Linked DNA regions of Homo sapiens: regions 1, 2, 3 and 5 are each linked to region 4. The links are contacts of gene promoters, found by promoter capture Hi-C in human tissues and cell types (Jung and others, 2019). All regions are on one chromosome and are shown on one strand. Each heading gives the region's core, a stretch centred on a gene start or on the middle of the fragment in contact. The rest is flanking DNA. Distances are from core to core; before and after follow the strand shown. Region 1 has its middle 14 kb from the start of LINC01659. Region 2 has its middle 10 kb from the start of LINC01659. Region 3 has its middle 19 kb from the start of MIR650. Region 4 holds the start of RAB36 (RAB36, member RAS oncogene family). Region 5 overlaps LOC105372948 (a long non-coding RNA gene).

Region 1 (2,732 bases), core at 107-2,606, 270 kb before region 4:
GTCGCCCAGGCTGGAGTCCAGTGGCTAGATCTCGGCTCACTGCAACCTCCACCTGCCAGGTTCAAGCAATTCTTCTGCCTCAGCCTCCCAAGTACCTGGGACTACAGGCACGCACCACCATGCCCGGCTAATTTTTTGTATTTTCAGTAGAGACGGGGTTTCACTGTGTTGGCCAGGCTGGCCTCGAACTCCTGACCTTGTGATCTGCCCACCTCAACCTCCCAAAGTGCTGGGATTACAGGTGTGAGCCACTGCACCTGGCCCCGAAGGACACTTTTACATGCTGCTAGTGACAGGTTCCCTCTGTGCATGACCACCAGCCCAGGGGAAGGGTTCATGGCTTAAAGGTATCTCTTACCCTTCAAGCAAACTTGATGTATGGAAATGTGGATTTACCTTCAAGATAAACTAGTGTGTATCTGTACTTCTTGGCTTGAAATTAAATTCTTCACAGTAAAGGAATTTTGCAACAGAATTCCTTCTATAGGAATTTAAACAGTTACCTTGCTATAGACAACATTTTAGGCAGTCTGATATCCCACCATTGGTGGGAATGACTGCCTGTCACATTAACCTGCCTGCCCCTCTTTGTCCCCCTACAGCACTTATACTCATGCGGGCTCAGAGGCACAGGTGCTCCTGGCTCTGCCTACAGCCTCCTAGGCCTGTCATCTGGGCCTGTTGGTGCAGTACATGGATCTAGGTGCTGTCACGGACTGTCAGTTGTGGCGTGTCCTGGCAGGGCCTGGCTGGCCCGACCTCTGCTCATGCAGTATTCATCTGCACACCAGGAGCCGTCTGGGCCATCTCTGGTGTGCTGCCCCACTCAGTTCTGTGTGCAGTTGCTTTCCTTTCTTGCTTGTCTCCAGGCCATTTTTGTAAGTTTTTATGAGGTCCAAATGCTTAGGCATAGGCAGTAGGCAGGAAAATCCAGCAGGGCATGTAGATCATTCCTAGTAGTAAAAGAGGTCAAGGGGTTTGGCTAAAAACCTCACTTATATTGGGATATGGGAAAAGTGGGAGGGAACTGATTTCTCAGGAGTCCGCTTCATAATATGTGTCATGGCATGATTGCCTTCAATCCTCATGACAGTCTTAGAAAGTTACCCATATGAGGCCCACTTGAAAGATGAGGCGCAGTGAGGTTAGATGACTTGCCTGAGATCTCTCACCTGGTAAATGGCGGAGCTAAATCAGAGTAAGACACTCAAACTGCGTTGTGGTTAAGAGCTTGGACTCTGGAACCAGACTGTGCTGTACTATACCGGTTACTAGAGTGTGTGACCGGGAGTGTGTTCCTTATCCCCCCCGAGACTCAGTTTCCTCATCTGTGCAATGAAGGGCGTAACAGTCCTCCTAACCTTGTATGGTCGTAAGCATTTAGAATCTTCCCAGGCATGTGGTAAGCACCCAGTGAGCACCCCACACATCAGCTGGTACTGTCACTGACTAGTGCTCATGAAACTTGGAATGGAATTCTGAGGCTTGGGGCTTCCTGTCATCCAGAGACAGTCTTCAGGGGAGGATGCTGGGTCCAGACTGTCCAGTGAGTCAGCACAGGTTTCTTTGCAGTGTTTGGATGGGTGAGAATGAACAGTACCACCTCCAAGGGGGAGTTCTTTCCTATCTTGCTGGTCCCCTCCTCAACCCACTTGCTCCCGCTCTCTAACTGCCTTTGTCATCAGTATGAAAACATCTGCAAAAGCCTGCTCTCTAGCTCACTCCTGATCCCCTGGGGCTTTGCATTTTTTTTTATTAGCAATTCTTTAAACCTAAATAACCTGAAATAACTTATTTATTAAAGTTGTATCCTTTGGTCCCTTCCTCCACGTGTTGTGTTGTCCTGGGTTTTAGGGCAGGGGCGGCTTCATGGAAGTATACTACGACCGTGTCTCTGCTCATGACAAACCTGCCTCAGGAGAGCCAGGGTAATATACACAACAGTTACGGGGAAGAAAAGGGATGAAACACCCAGATGGCATAGACAGTGTGATTGGGGAAAACAAGTGTGCTGTTCTTAAAAATCTATTATATGCCAAGTGTCGGTTCAGAAGCTTTATATGCGTTGTCAGCCCTGCAAGTTAGGGGATACTGAGTCATTCCCTCTTTACGATGAGAACCCAGAGACAGAAGCATCTTGTGCAAGGGCACTCGGCACATGGGTGAGAGGAGCTGGGGGTTTGAACCTGCGACCCTATTGACTTCTGTGGGCCTAGGGAGGAAATGCAATTTGAACTGTGCCCAGGCCATGGTCGGATTGTCTTAAGTGAGATGTGGGGGTGCTGGGGTGAGCGCAGGCTCAGAGTTGAGCGTGAGCAGCATGTATTCAGGGGCAGCAAGGAGGCCAGCCTGGCCAGGCTGGGGTTGCGTTCAGTGTTGATGAGCTGTTGTACTGGGTTCTGTATGGGTGATGGGAGATAAGTAAGATGTGTTCCTTGCCCTCTGGGATCTTGCTGCAGCTGGCGAGACAGACGCACAAATAGATGATTTCAGTGCTGTGTGGTAAGAGCTGTGATGAGGGTAAGTATAGGGAGCTGTGGGAGCAGAGCAGAGGGAGCCGGGAGCATTCCCAGAGCCTTGCCCTGACTGCAAGGGCAAGGTAAGCAGCGGCAGGCTTAGCGGTGGAAGGCAGGAAGGGCTTCCTGACAGGCAGAGAACAGCATGAGCAAAGGCATGTCCTTGAGGGCTTTTCTTGTTTATTCTCCTGGTCGAATGGATGTCAGGGTACAGTG
Region 2 (2,700 bases), core at 192-2,691, 300 kb before region 4:
GACTTATCTAATCAAAGTAGTAATCAATTTAAATGTAAATGGCCCAGTGAAAAGGCAGAGAATGTCAGATTTTATGCACATTTAAGACTCAGCTATATCCTGCTTTTAAGAAGCACATTTTAACTATGAAGACGCAGTAGATTAAAAGTAACGTGAAGCAGATACAGTGTGCTCACATTTCGCCGTGTTCACATGAGCACACCTTGCTTCATCCGTTGCCTGACTGTGCCTCACAGACACTGCATTTTTTACAAATTTAAGGTCTGTGTCTGGCAAGTCTATTGGCACTATTTTTCCAAAAGCGTGGATTCACTTCATGTCTGTGTCATATATATTTCCAACTTTTTCATTATTAGTATATCTTTTATGGTAGTCTGTCATCTGTGATCTTTGATGTCACCATTGTAATGGTCTCGGAGCTCCACAAACAGTGCCCATAAGATAGCAAACTTAACTGATAAATGTGTGTGTTCTGACTGCTCCACTGACCAGCCATCCCCCATCTCTCTCCTTCTCCTTAGGCCTCCCCATTCCCTGAGACACGACCATCACAACAATATTGAAACCAGGCCCATTAATAACCCTAGAATGGCTTCTAGGTGTTCAAGTGAAAGAAGACTCACATGTCTCTCACTTTAAATCAAAAGCTAGAGATAATTAAGTTTAGTGAGGAAGGCATGTTGAAAACTGAGGCCAAAAGCTAGGTCTCTTGCACCACACAGCTAGCCTGCAAAGGAGAAGTTCGTAAAGGAAATCACAAGGGCTATTCCAGCGAACACATGAATGTTAAGAAAGCAGAACAGGCTTACTGCTAATATGGAGATGGTAAATGAGCTCTTGGGGCCCTTAAGAATGATGCTAAGTCTTCTCTGTCTGTGCTCTATCAGTGGAACAACGAAGCCTGGATGACAGCACATCTGTTCAAACGTAGCACAGTGCACTGAATATTTTAAGCCCACTGTTGAGACCTCCTGCTCAGAAAACAAAATTCCTTTCAAAATATTATTGCTCACTGACAATGCAACTAGTTACTGGGCTCTGATGGAGATGAACGTTGTTTCTATGACTGCTAACACAGCATCCATCCTGTGGTCCCTAGATCAAGGGACAATTGACTTTCAAGTGTTATTATTTAAGAAATACATTTTGTAAGGCTATAGTTGTCACAGAGTGCTTCCTCTAATGAATCTGGGCAAAGACAACTGAAAACCTTCCGGAAAGGAGCTGTCATTCTAGATGCCATTAAGAACATCAGTGATTTATGAGAGGAGGTCAAAGTATCACCATTAACAGGAGTTTGCAGAAGTTGGTTCCAACCCTCCTGGATGACTTGGTTCAAGAAGAGGTCAGTGGAGGAAGATGGACAGATGTGGTGAAAATAGCAAGAGAATTAGAATTAGAAGCAGAGCCTGAAGATGTGACTAAATTGCTGCAATCTCATGATCAAGCTTGAATGGATGAGGAGCTGCTTCTTATGAATGAACAAAGAAAGTGGTTTCTTGAGATGGAATCTGCTCCTGGTGAAAATGCTGTGAACATTGTTGAAAAATGACAGCAAAGTACATCAACTTAGTTGATAAAGCAGTTTGAGGGGTTGAGAGGATTGGCTCCAAGATAGAAAGAAGTTCTACTGTAGGTAAAATGGTTTTAGAGAGCATTGCATGCTACAGAGAAATCTTTCATGAAAGGAAGAGTCAATCAATGTGGCCAGCTTCATTGCTGTTTTTTTTTTTTTTTTTTTTTTGGTGGGGGGATGGAGTCGTGCTCTGTTGCCCAGGCTGGAGTGCAGTGGCACGATCTCAGCTCACTGCAACCTCCACCTCCCAGGTTCAAGCGATTCTCGTGCCTCAGCCTCCCAAGTAGCTGGGATTACAGGTACGTGCCACCATGCCCGGCTAATTTTTGTGTTTGTAGTAGAGACAGGTTTTCACCATGTTGGCCAGGGTGGTCTCGAACTACTGGCCTCAAGTGATCCATTTGCCTCAGCCTCCCAAAGTGCTGGGATTACAGGCTTGAGCCACAGCACCCAGCCCATTGGTGTTTTTAAGAAACTGTCACAGCCACCCCAACCTTCAGCAACCACCACCCTGATCTGTCAGCAGCCATCACCATCAAAGCAAGAACCTCCACCAGCAAAGAGATTACAACTGGCTAAAGGTTTGGGTGATCGTTAGCATTTTTAAGCAATAAAGTATTTTTAAAATCAGGACATGTACATTGTTTTTTAAAGACATAATGCTATTGTACACTTGACAGACTATAGTATAGGATAAACATAACTTTTATATGCACTGGGAAACAAAATGCATGGGACTTGCTTTATTGTGATATTGGTTTAATCACAGTGATCTGGAACCAAATGCGCGATATACCCAAGGTTGCTTATTGACAGTGCAGCTCTGTATCAGACAAAGTAGATTTCAGAGCAAAGAATATTACTAGCAATAAAGGTCATTTCATAATGATAAAAGCGTCCATTTATATATGAAACAAAAACTGGAATGCAAGAAGGAATAGAGAAATCTGTAATTATAGTCAGAGATGTCAATATTCATCTATCAATAACTGATAGAACAGGAAGACAGAAAATTGGCAAGGATATAGAAGCTTTGCAAACATTATTAAAAATGTCAGCTACTTGACATCAATATAGCACATTCCAGTGGGATACAGGATACACACAGATTTTAAGTACACACA
Region 3 (2,700 bases), core at 130-2,629, 340 kb after region 4:
TAGAGCAGGCCAGGCCTGGTGGCTCACACCTGTAATCCCAGCACTTTGGGAGGCCAAGGAGGCAGGAGGATCACTTGAGGCCAGGAGTTCGAGACCAGCCTGGTCATCATGGAGAAAGCCGGTCTCTACTAAAAATACAAAAATTAGGTGGATGTGATGGTGCACACCTGTAATCCCAGCTACCTGGGAGGATGAGGCACAAGAATCACTTGAAGCTGGGAGGTGGCGATTGCAGTGAGCTGAGATCACACCACTGTAACCCAGCCTGGGTGACAGAGTGAGACTCTGTCTCACAAAAAAAAAAAAAAAAAAAAAGAAAGTGTTTAGGTGTTTAGAGCAAAGAGTGAGGATTTCTTAAGTCCTGTATTGCTGAATTCAGGCTCAGGACGCAACATCAACTCTTACCTGCATTTCCAGCCTTCAGCCTGCCCAAGAGATTTTTATCCTTGTCAGACAGGACAATCCTATGAACCAATTTCTTCTTTTAAGTTTCTCTCTCTCTCTCGATATGCTCACATACATGCATGTGTATATACACATATGTATGTTATACACACATATATATCTTACCAATTTTGTTTCTGTGGATAACCCTAATGTAGCTTATTCGCTCTAATTCTTTTTTGATCAAAAGGTTTGATTTAATGACTACTTTAAGGTTTATGTATATAGAGATCTTATGAAAATCTACCTGCAGTTGTTACACATTCCCATATGAGACCTTGATAACATGTTCTTCACCCACCACAGATTTTGTGCTGTCTTTGTCATATAATTTGCCTTTATTTTCATTATAAATCACAATGTATTTTATTAATTTATCTTTGATCAGTGAACTGTATTTTATTGGCATTAACATAATACAGAGGTTTTCACAAGTATCTATGTAGTTACTGTACCTGATATTTAATTTTTTTATTTCCTTTTTTTTTTTTTAATAGAGACAGATTCTTAATATGTTGCCCAGGCTGGACTGCAGTGGTATGATCATACCTCACATCAGCCTCAAACTCCTGTGCTCAAGCAATACTCCTGCCTCAGTCTCCCAAAGTGCTGAAATTACAGACATGAGCCACTGGGCCCAGCCTGATGTTTTCACTTTTTTGTGTAAATTCACATTTCAATGTGACATCACTTTCCTTCTGTCTAGGGATATCCTTTACCCTTCTAATAGCAACAGTCTGGTGGTGAACAATTCTGTGAGTTTTTAAATGTCAGCAAAACTTTCATTTATTCACCATTTTTGAAAAATACTGCATGAAGGGGAATATGGGGAAAAGTGAATTTTAAAAATAGACCAAGATTTGATTAAGCTTTTCACCAAAGAAGATATACAGATAACAAGCACCTGAAAAGATGCTCAGCCTGATGTTGCTAAGAAAATACAAGTTAAAAAATTAATAAGAATCGCTACAGATCTATTAGAGTGGCTTTAAACAAAAACTGACAATAATATTGAGTGTTAATGAGGATGCACACAACTACAGTTCTCATAAATGGCTGGGGACATGTCAAGATCCATGTTGCCTCCTCAGGCAGAGCCCCATGACAGTCCCCTGAGGCAGGGGTGCAGGGTGCAATGGCACTCACTGGATGCAGTCATCTCAGCCCGACCCCTCTCTCAGGGCCGTTTTCCTGCCTGGGCTGTTCTGGTCTCTCCCAGTGTAGTCCCCACAGGCTGGTGTGGTGGAAACAGATTGATGACTTATCAAAATGGCCTCAATCATGGCCTGCATCTGCCTCTGCCTAAGGGTGTCTTGAGGGAGGACATCTGGGATGATGAAATTTGAAAGGGGGAGAGTCAACATTCTCAGGGTCAATGGAGATGACATAGGGCTTCTCACTCTCAGTCCTTGAAGAGGAAGGGGAGGGGGTATGTTTTGGCCTCACTTCTTGGTCTGTGTCACTGTGGCTCACCCATCCTCACCATCAAACATGTGGCTCTCTCCACAGTGATACTCGGCCTCATCCTCAGATTGGAGGTTGAAGATAATTAAGTAGCATTCAGCCCCAGGGCTGGAGCCCAATAAGTGACTGGGGATCCTGTTCCCCTTGCTGTTGCTGCCATTACTCTTAACCTCCATTATACACTAGGGGGACCTCCTTGGTCTCTGTTGATACTATTCACTGGTGTAGGTGACCTTGGCTGAGGCTCACAGCCAGGCAGATGCAGACGGGGGCTGGGTCAGCACAGACAGAGCACAGAGACCTGGAAACATATAATTTCATGAATGATGCTGAATGCACAGGAGAACTGGAAAGAATGCCACTGAGGACCAGTGCTGGGGGGAAATAGCAGTGAAAGGGTTTCCCTGAATTCTCTGGATGCTCCAACCTGTGGAGAATATGAAGGGCAGGAGGTAGAAGGAGACACAGGCCGTGGTGGGAGGCACTTCCGAGAGCTCTGATCGAGGCTGCCCAGTGGAGCCTGGACACAACCAGCTCCTATCTTATCCTCTTCTTGAAGCTCAAGAAGGAAGGAGCATTGAATCCAAATCTGTTCTCTATTCCCAAGCGTGTCTGTCTGAGCTCATAGCTGAGCCCTGGAGCTGATGGCCTCAGGGTAGTCATTTCTCAAAGGCAGGAGAAGGGCCAAGTGGGTGTCAGGAGTGGAGAGTGGATTGTACTCAAAAAGACTGGACCTGAAAGGAAACATCAGTCACACCCTTTGCACGTGAGCTCTACTGGGGGACTTGGAGC
Region 4 (2,700 bases), core at 46-2,545:
CTTTACTTCTAGGCATGAGTGTAGAGTGGGGAGAGCTGATGTGGCTGCAGGGCCAGGAGAGCACTGCAGACGTAATGACTCTCTACCTTAGGGAAGCTGGCGATGACACGGTCGCGGCTCACAGGGGGCCCCAAAGGTGTCAGGGAGGACCTCATTCTTCCACAGTCCTGTGGACCCAACCAGGAGAAAGACAGTTAAGGAGCTGTGCAAATACCTGGGGATTCACCCATGAGTTTCCACCTAACTTTTCATCAGATCCAGGCTGGGTGCAGTGGCTCATGCCTGTAATCCCAGCACTTTGGGAGGCCAAGGTGGGAGGATCACTTGGGCCCAGGAGGTTGAGACCAGCCTGGGCAACAAAGTGAAACCTCAGTCTCTACAAAAAAAAACCAAAAAAATTAGCAGGGCATGGTGGCCTGTGCCTGCAGTCCCAGCTACTTGGGAGGAAGGTGGGAGGAATGCTTGAGCCTGGGAGGTCAAGGGTGCAGTGAACCGTGAAGGTGCCACTGCACTCCAGCCTGGGTGATAGAGTAAGACCTTGTCTCAAGAATTATAAATAAAACCAGATCCAGGCTTCCCTCTCTGTCAGGAATATGGGGCAGAGGCCATTTCTCTCAATCTGCATACAGCAGGCAGCATGGTATGGGGGAACCAGGCCTGCCCCACCCTGCCTGGGAGTCAGAAGACCTGGGTCTCCCCTTGACAGGTGTCTACCAAGGAGGAGCTCCCCTCTGAGCTTACCTTACTGGGCTGTGAGGCATGGCACAGCTCAGGCAGTGGAAGTAGAGTGGGGAGGGGTCTCCTGCTCCCAGTCTGCAAAGGACGAAGGCTCTAGGTGGGCCTGGGGGCCTTAACTTTCAGCCAACTAGGCCTTTTCCCTGAAAACCCTCACTTCACCAGGCCTCTGACTCCTCGAGCCTCCTCAACAGCCCCTCTGTCTCCTTTTTCTGTCCGGACTCCTCTCCAGGCTGGGCTGGGGTGGTCCTGGCGGAGTCCGGTTGTCTTCCCGCATCTGACCTGGCTCTCCTCCACAACCAGCGCGGGCCTGGCCCAGAGTTTGCGCTCCGGAAATGAGGACGCCCCGGGGCCGCAGGCCGCTTTCAAGTTATAGGGGCGGGAAGTGGGCGCGGACGCTGTGCCCTCGCGGCCCTGGCCTCGGGATGTGCCAGCACGGGGTTGGGTGACCGGGAGGGTCGGACAGAGTGGGCGAGCTGACTCACCAGCGATGGCTGTGAAAGCTGGGGCTCCGCGCGGCCTGGTCCGCCTGAGCCAGCGGCGGCGATCACCATGGCAACGAGAGCCACGCGGGACCTGCGGGCTACACGAATCGTCGACGTCGTGGGCGGGGTCTGCGTTGGACTGGCAGCGGCGCGTCCAAGCATCCAGCTTGCACCGGCGATCACCATAGCAACGAGAACCTGCCTGGAGTCTGGGCGGGGCTGGCAGCAGAGAGACTCCTGGACACCCTGGAGAGCCGGAGATCACCATGACAACAAGGGCGGTGCTGGATGGGTGGGCGGTGGGCGGGGCTATGGAGGCCCGGGGGCGGAGCCTGAGCCCTGGGTGGGGCTGACCGTGGAGAGATTCGCGCAGGTTCTGGTGATCAGCTCGGCTGGGAGAGGTTGGGCGGTTATGGCATAAGAGCTCCTGATGTGGTATTGATGTTTAATTGGAGTCAAGCACCCTGCAGCTGCAGAAGATAGACCTGCCTACCATCTACTGACCTTAGTCTGCATAGTTCTGAATCCAGTGCTGTCTGAATATCATATGCCTGGCTTCTAGAGCTCACGGTACAAAATTAATTTCCTTAATAAAAAGCTGACCTGAGTCAGTGATTTCCTCTGAACTAGTTTCGGTTTGGAAAGTTAGCTGTTTTGGGCTAGATGGCCTCTTGTGGCCCTTATAAAACCGTGGAACCAGCTTCGAAGTCCGGGGTTCAGTTTGAGAACCTACTTAATTCAGCTCCTTAACTTTTCTGCATCACAATATGGAAGCCTTGGTACACAGATCTAACTCAGTCATCTTCAATTCAAAGCTAAGTGTGCTGGAGGCTGGTGTTTGATGTCTTTTTTTTTTTTTTTTAAAGAGATGGAGTCTTGCTATGTTGTCCAGGCTGGACTCGAACTCCTAGGCTCAAGGAATCCTCCCGCCTCAGCCTCCCCAGTCCTTGGGACTACAGGCAAGGGCCACCACACCTGGCTCTGTTTAATGTCTTTTAGTGAGTTTCACTGCTAAGGTTGAGGCTTAGGGGGTGAACTTAGGTGAGTTGTTCCACCTTCCGCACCTCAGTTTACTCAACTATAAAATAAACGCAACTATCTATTTCAATGGATCACCTGAGATGGTGAAAGTGCTTTTATACTGTAAAGCTTGATTCAAGTCCATTAACTATTCATTTGTCCTACATGTACTGAAAGCTTCCTGGTATATGCCTAGCACTGGGGAGACAAGGAAAGAGAACGGACATGGTGTCCACCCTCAGGGAAATTGGAGTCCACTGCGGGAAGCAGAGAAGTAAATAGAGAATTAGGGGAAGGGAGTGTGCCAATGGGATTTAGGAGAAGGGAAGATTAAGCTGTGGGGTCACTTACTAATTTGGATTTGGGGATTTGGCAGGAGCTAGAGATCACCCTGAACTCCTCCTTTAGCTGTTTTTTTTTTTTTTTTTTTTTTTTTTTTGAGATGGAGTCTCACTCTGTC
Region 5 (2,700 bases), core at 28-2,527, 270 kb after region 4:
AGTCCTGGGATTTGTGTTGGAAACAGTGGAGTCAGGCCCCTGTGGAAAGAGTCTGGCATGTGTGAGGACCTGAGAGGTCAGCGGCAAACCTGAAAGGGGTCCTGGATTCAGGCCATTTCGGCTAATTGTGCCATTTTAATAAATTAGTAATTTGGGGGCAGGAGTCATGTGTGGTCAGGTGTGGTGAAGGGAAATTTACAGGTAATTAATCAAGTTCTTTGGCAGCTGCTTAGCACATATAGGGGCTTCCAGGATGGTGCTGCTGGGGCAGTGACAGGAGAGTCCCCGGTGGGTTGAGCCCAGCCCACTGACCCCTCCCTAGTTCACCTGGGGCTGAAGACACTCAGGGGAGTGGTTCCTGGTTTCTTACCTCCACCTGGTGCCCACCATGCTGCTCTGTGGGGACCCCCACTGCTGTCTGTGTTTCTGGTCCTGGGCTCGCTGTCTTGAATTCCATGTGGGTGACCAGCACTGCTTTCCCTAAAATTCTACAGATACAGGACCTAGGAACACAAAATCTGCAAACTGCACTTAACACAAAAGGGAAGGGGCTGAGATGGGGAGGAACAATTCCAAGGTCACTTGGCAAGGAGAGAGAAAAGGAAGACGAGAAATGCTCTGGACCTGTAACAGTAAGTCTTCTGAGTGTCCTGGGACCAGCCTGCCAGGGAGGGCATGGGAAAATCCTCAGCCCAAATTCTCAGCCCAAATCCCTCCCTATGGAGACGGCATCTCAGTCAGCTCTTTTAGCTGCCTGTAGGGGGCGCGCCTGCCACACTCTGGGTTGAAAGGGAGAGAAAAGACGGTTGATTCCCAGCTCAGGAACCAAGCTGTCTAGAGACATTTTCTTTTCTTTTTTTTTTTTAATTTATTATTATTATACTTTAAGTTTTAGGGTACATGTGCACAATGTGCAGGTTAGTTACATATGTATACATGTGCCATGCTGGTGCGCTGCACCCACTAACTCGTCATCTAGCATTAGATATATCTCCCAATGCTATCCCTCGCCCCTCCCCCCACCCCACAACAGTCCCCAGAGTGTGATGTTCCCCTTCCTGTGTCCATGTGTTCTCATTGTTCAATTCCCACCTATGAGTGAGAATATGCGGTGTTTGGTTTTTTGTTCTTGCGATAGTTTACTGAGAATGATGATTTCCAATTTCATCCATGTCCCTACAAAGGACATGAACTCATCATTTTTTATGGCTGCATAGTATTCCATGGTGTATATGTGCCACATTTTCTTAATCCAGTCTATCATTGTTGGACATTTGGGTTGGTTCCAAGTCTTTGCTATTGTGAATAATGCCACAATAAACATACATGTGCATGTGTCTTTACAGCAGCATGATTTATAGTCGTTTGGGTATATACCCAGTAATGGGATGGCTGGGTCAAATGGTATTTTTAGTTCTAGATCCCTGAGGAATCGCCACACTGACTTCCACAATGGTTGAACTAGTTTACAGTCCCACCAACAGTGTAAAAGTGTTCCTATTTCTCCACATCCTGTCCAGCACCTGTTGTTTCCTGACTTTTTAATGATCGCCATTCTAACTGGTGTGAGATGGTATCTCATTGTGGCTTTGATTTGCATTTCTCTGTTGGCCAGTGATGGTGAGCATTTTTTCATGTGTTTTTTGGCTGCATAAATGTCTTCTTTTGAGAAGTGGCCAGCATATAAACAGAACCAAAGACAAAAACCACATGATTATCGCAATAGATGCAGAAAAGGCCTTTGACAAAATTCAACAACACTTCATGCTAAAAACTCTCAATAAATTAGGTATTGATGGGACGTATCTCAAAATAATAAGAGCTATCTACGACAAACCCACAGCCAATATCATACTGAATGGGCAAAAACTGGAAGCATTCCCTTTGAAAACTGACACAAGACAGGGATGCCCTCTCTCACCACTCCTATTCAATATAGTGTTGGAAGTTCTGGCCAGGGCAATCAGGCAGGAGAAAGAAATAAAGGGTATTCAGTTAGAAAAAGAGGAAGTCAAATTGTCCCTGTTTGCAGACAACATGATTGTATATCTAGAAAACCCCATTGTCTCAGCCCAAAATCTCCTTAAGCTGATAAGCAACTTCAGCAAAATCTCAGGATACAACATCAATGTACAAAAATCACAAGCATTCTTATACACCAACAACAGACAGACAAAGAGCCAAATCATGAGTGAACTCTCATTCACAACTGCTTCAAAGAGAATAAAATACCTAGGAATCTAACTTACAAGGGATGTGAAGGACCTCTTCAAGGAGAACTACAAACCTTCCTGTAGTCCCAGAAACTCAGTAGGCTGAGCTGGAAGGATCTTCTTGCTCTTTATTTTATATTTGTCCCATATGTTCGTTAGTTTTCTTTCCCTTTTGCTGTCTCCTTTTTTGATTGATTTTTTAAATTATCTTTTTATTTCCTTGCTGGGTTAAGTGATAGTTAATTTTAAGTGTTAGATTGGGTAGGCTATGCACCAGATTGATTTTATCAAATACCAGTATAGGAGTTGACATGAAGATAACTTTCAGATGTGATGAACATTTTAATTAGTAAACTTTGTATAAGCAGATTTCTCTTCACAATGTGGGTGGGACTCTTTAGTGAGCTGAATGTTTTTAGAACAAATGTGGAGGTTTCCTGAAGTGCTGCCTTGCTAAATTTGGATGCAGGACTGCAACATCAACTCT

What was found. The method cuts DNA at HindIII sites, captures the fragments that hold promoters and counts their contacts. A contact is called where the count stands out against the background at its distance.
Region 1: a fragment that was not itself captured here is called in contact with the fragment with the promoter of RAB36 in region 4 in 1 of the 25 tissues and cell types used here (lymphoblastoid cells).
Region 2: a fragment that was not itself captured here is called in contact with the fragment with the promoter of RAB36 in region 4 in 5 of the 25 tissues and cell types used here (adrenal gland, dorsolateral prefrontal cortex, lymphoblastoid cells and 2 more).
Region 3: a contact is called between a fragment that was not itself captured here and the fragment with the promoter of RAB36 in region 4, in 2 of the 25 tissues and cell types used here (dorsolateral prefrontal cortex and lymphoblastoid cells).
Region 5: a fragment that was not itself captured here is called in contact with the fragment with the promoter of RAB36 in region 4 in 3 of the 25 tissues and cell types used here (aorta, esophagus and thymus).

What each region holds. Positions count from the first base shown.
Region 1 is chr22:23,418,130-23,420,861 of GRCh38, reverse strand. No RefSeq gene overlaps it. Among named protein-coding and RNA genes, the nearest start is that of LINC01659, 14 kb to the left of the region's middle. The HindIII fragment of the contact is 3,489 bases long and covers 1-2,732 here.
Region 2 is chr22:23,442,657-23,445,356 of GRCh38, reverse strand. No RefSeq gene overlaps it. Among named protein-coding and RNA genes, the nearest start is that of LINC01659, 10 kb to the right of the region's middle. The HindIII fragment of the contact is 6,266 bases long and covers 1-2,700 here.
Region 3 is chr22:22,802,574-22,805,273 of GRCh38, reverse strand. It overlaps IGL. Among named protein-coding and RNA genes, the nearest start is that of MIR650, 19 kb to the left of the region's middle. The HindIII fragment of the contact is 4,576 bases long and covers 1-2,700 here.
Region 4 is chr22:23,144,072-23,146,771 of GRCh38, reverse strand. It overlaps RAB36 (RAB36, member RAS oncogene family), which reads right to left and starts at 1,295. Exons shown (of 11, transcript NM_004914.5): 1 at 1,221-1,295; 2 at 87-167. The coding sequence starts at 155. It also overlaps a transcript of RSPH14 not described here. RefSeq lists a silencer at 1,473-1,542. The HindIII fragment of the contact is 15,551 bases long and covers 1-2,700 here.
Region 5 is chr22:22,875,674-22,878,373 of GRCh38, reverse strand. The region is part of intron 2 of LOC105372948 (a long non-coding RNA gene); the gene reads left to right. It overlaps LOC102724638 (a long non-coding RNA gene), which reads left to right. Exons shown (of 5, transcript XR_938046.4): 5 at 495-878. It also overlaps IGL. Among named protein-coding and RNA genes, the nearest start is that of MIR5571, 9.2 kb to the left of the region's middle. The HindIII fragment of the contact is 7,203 bases long and covers 1-2,700 here.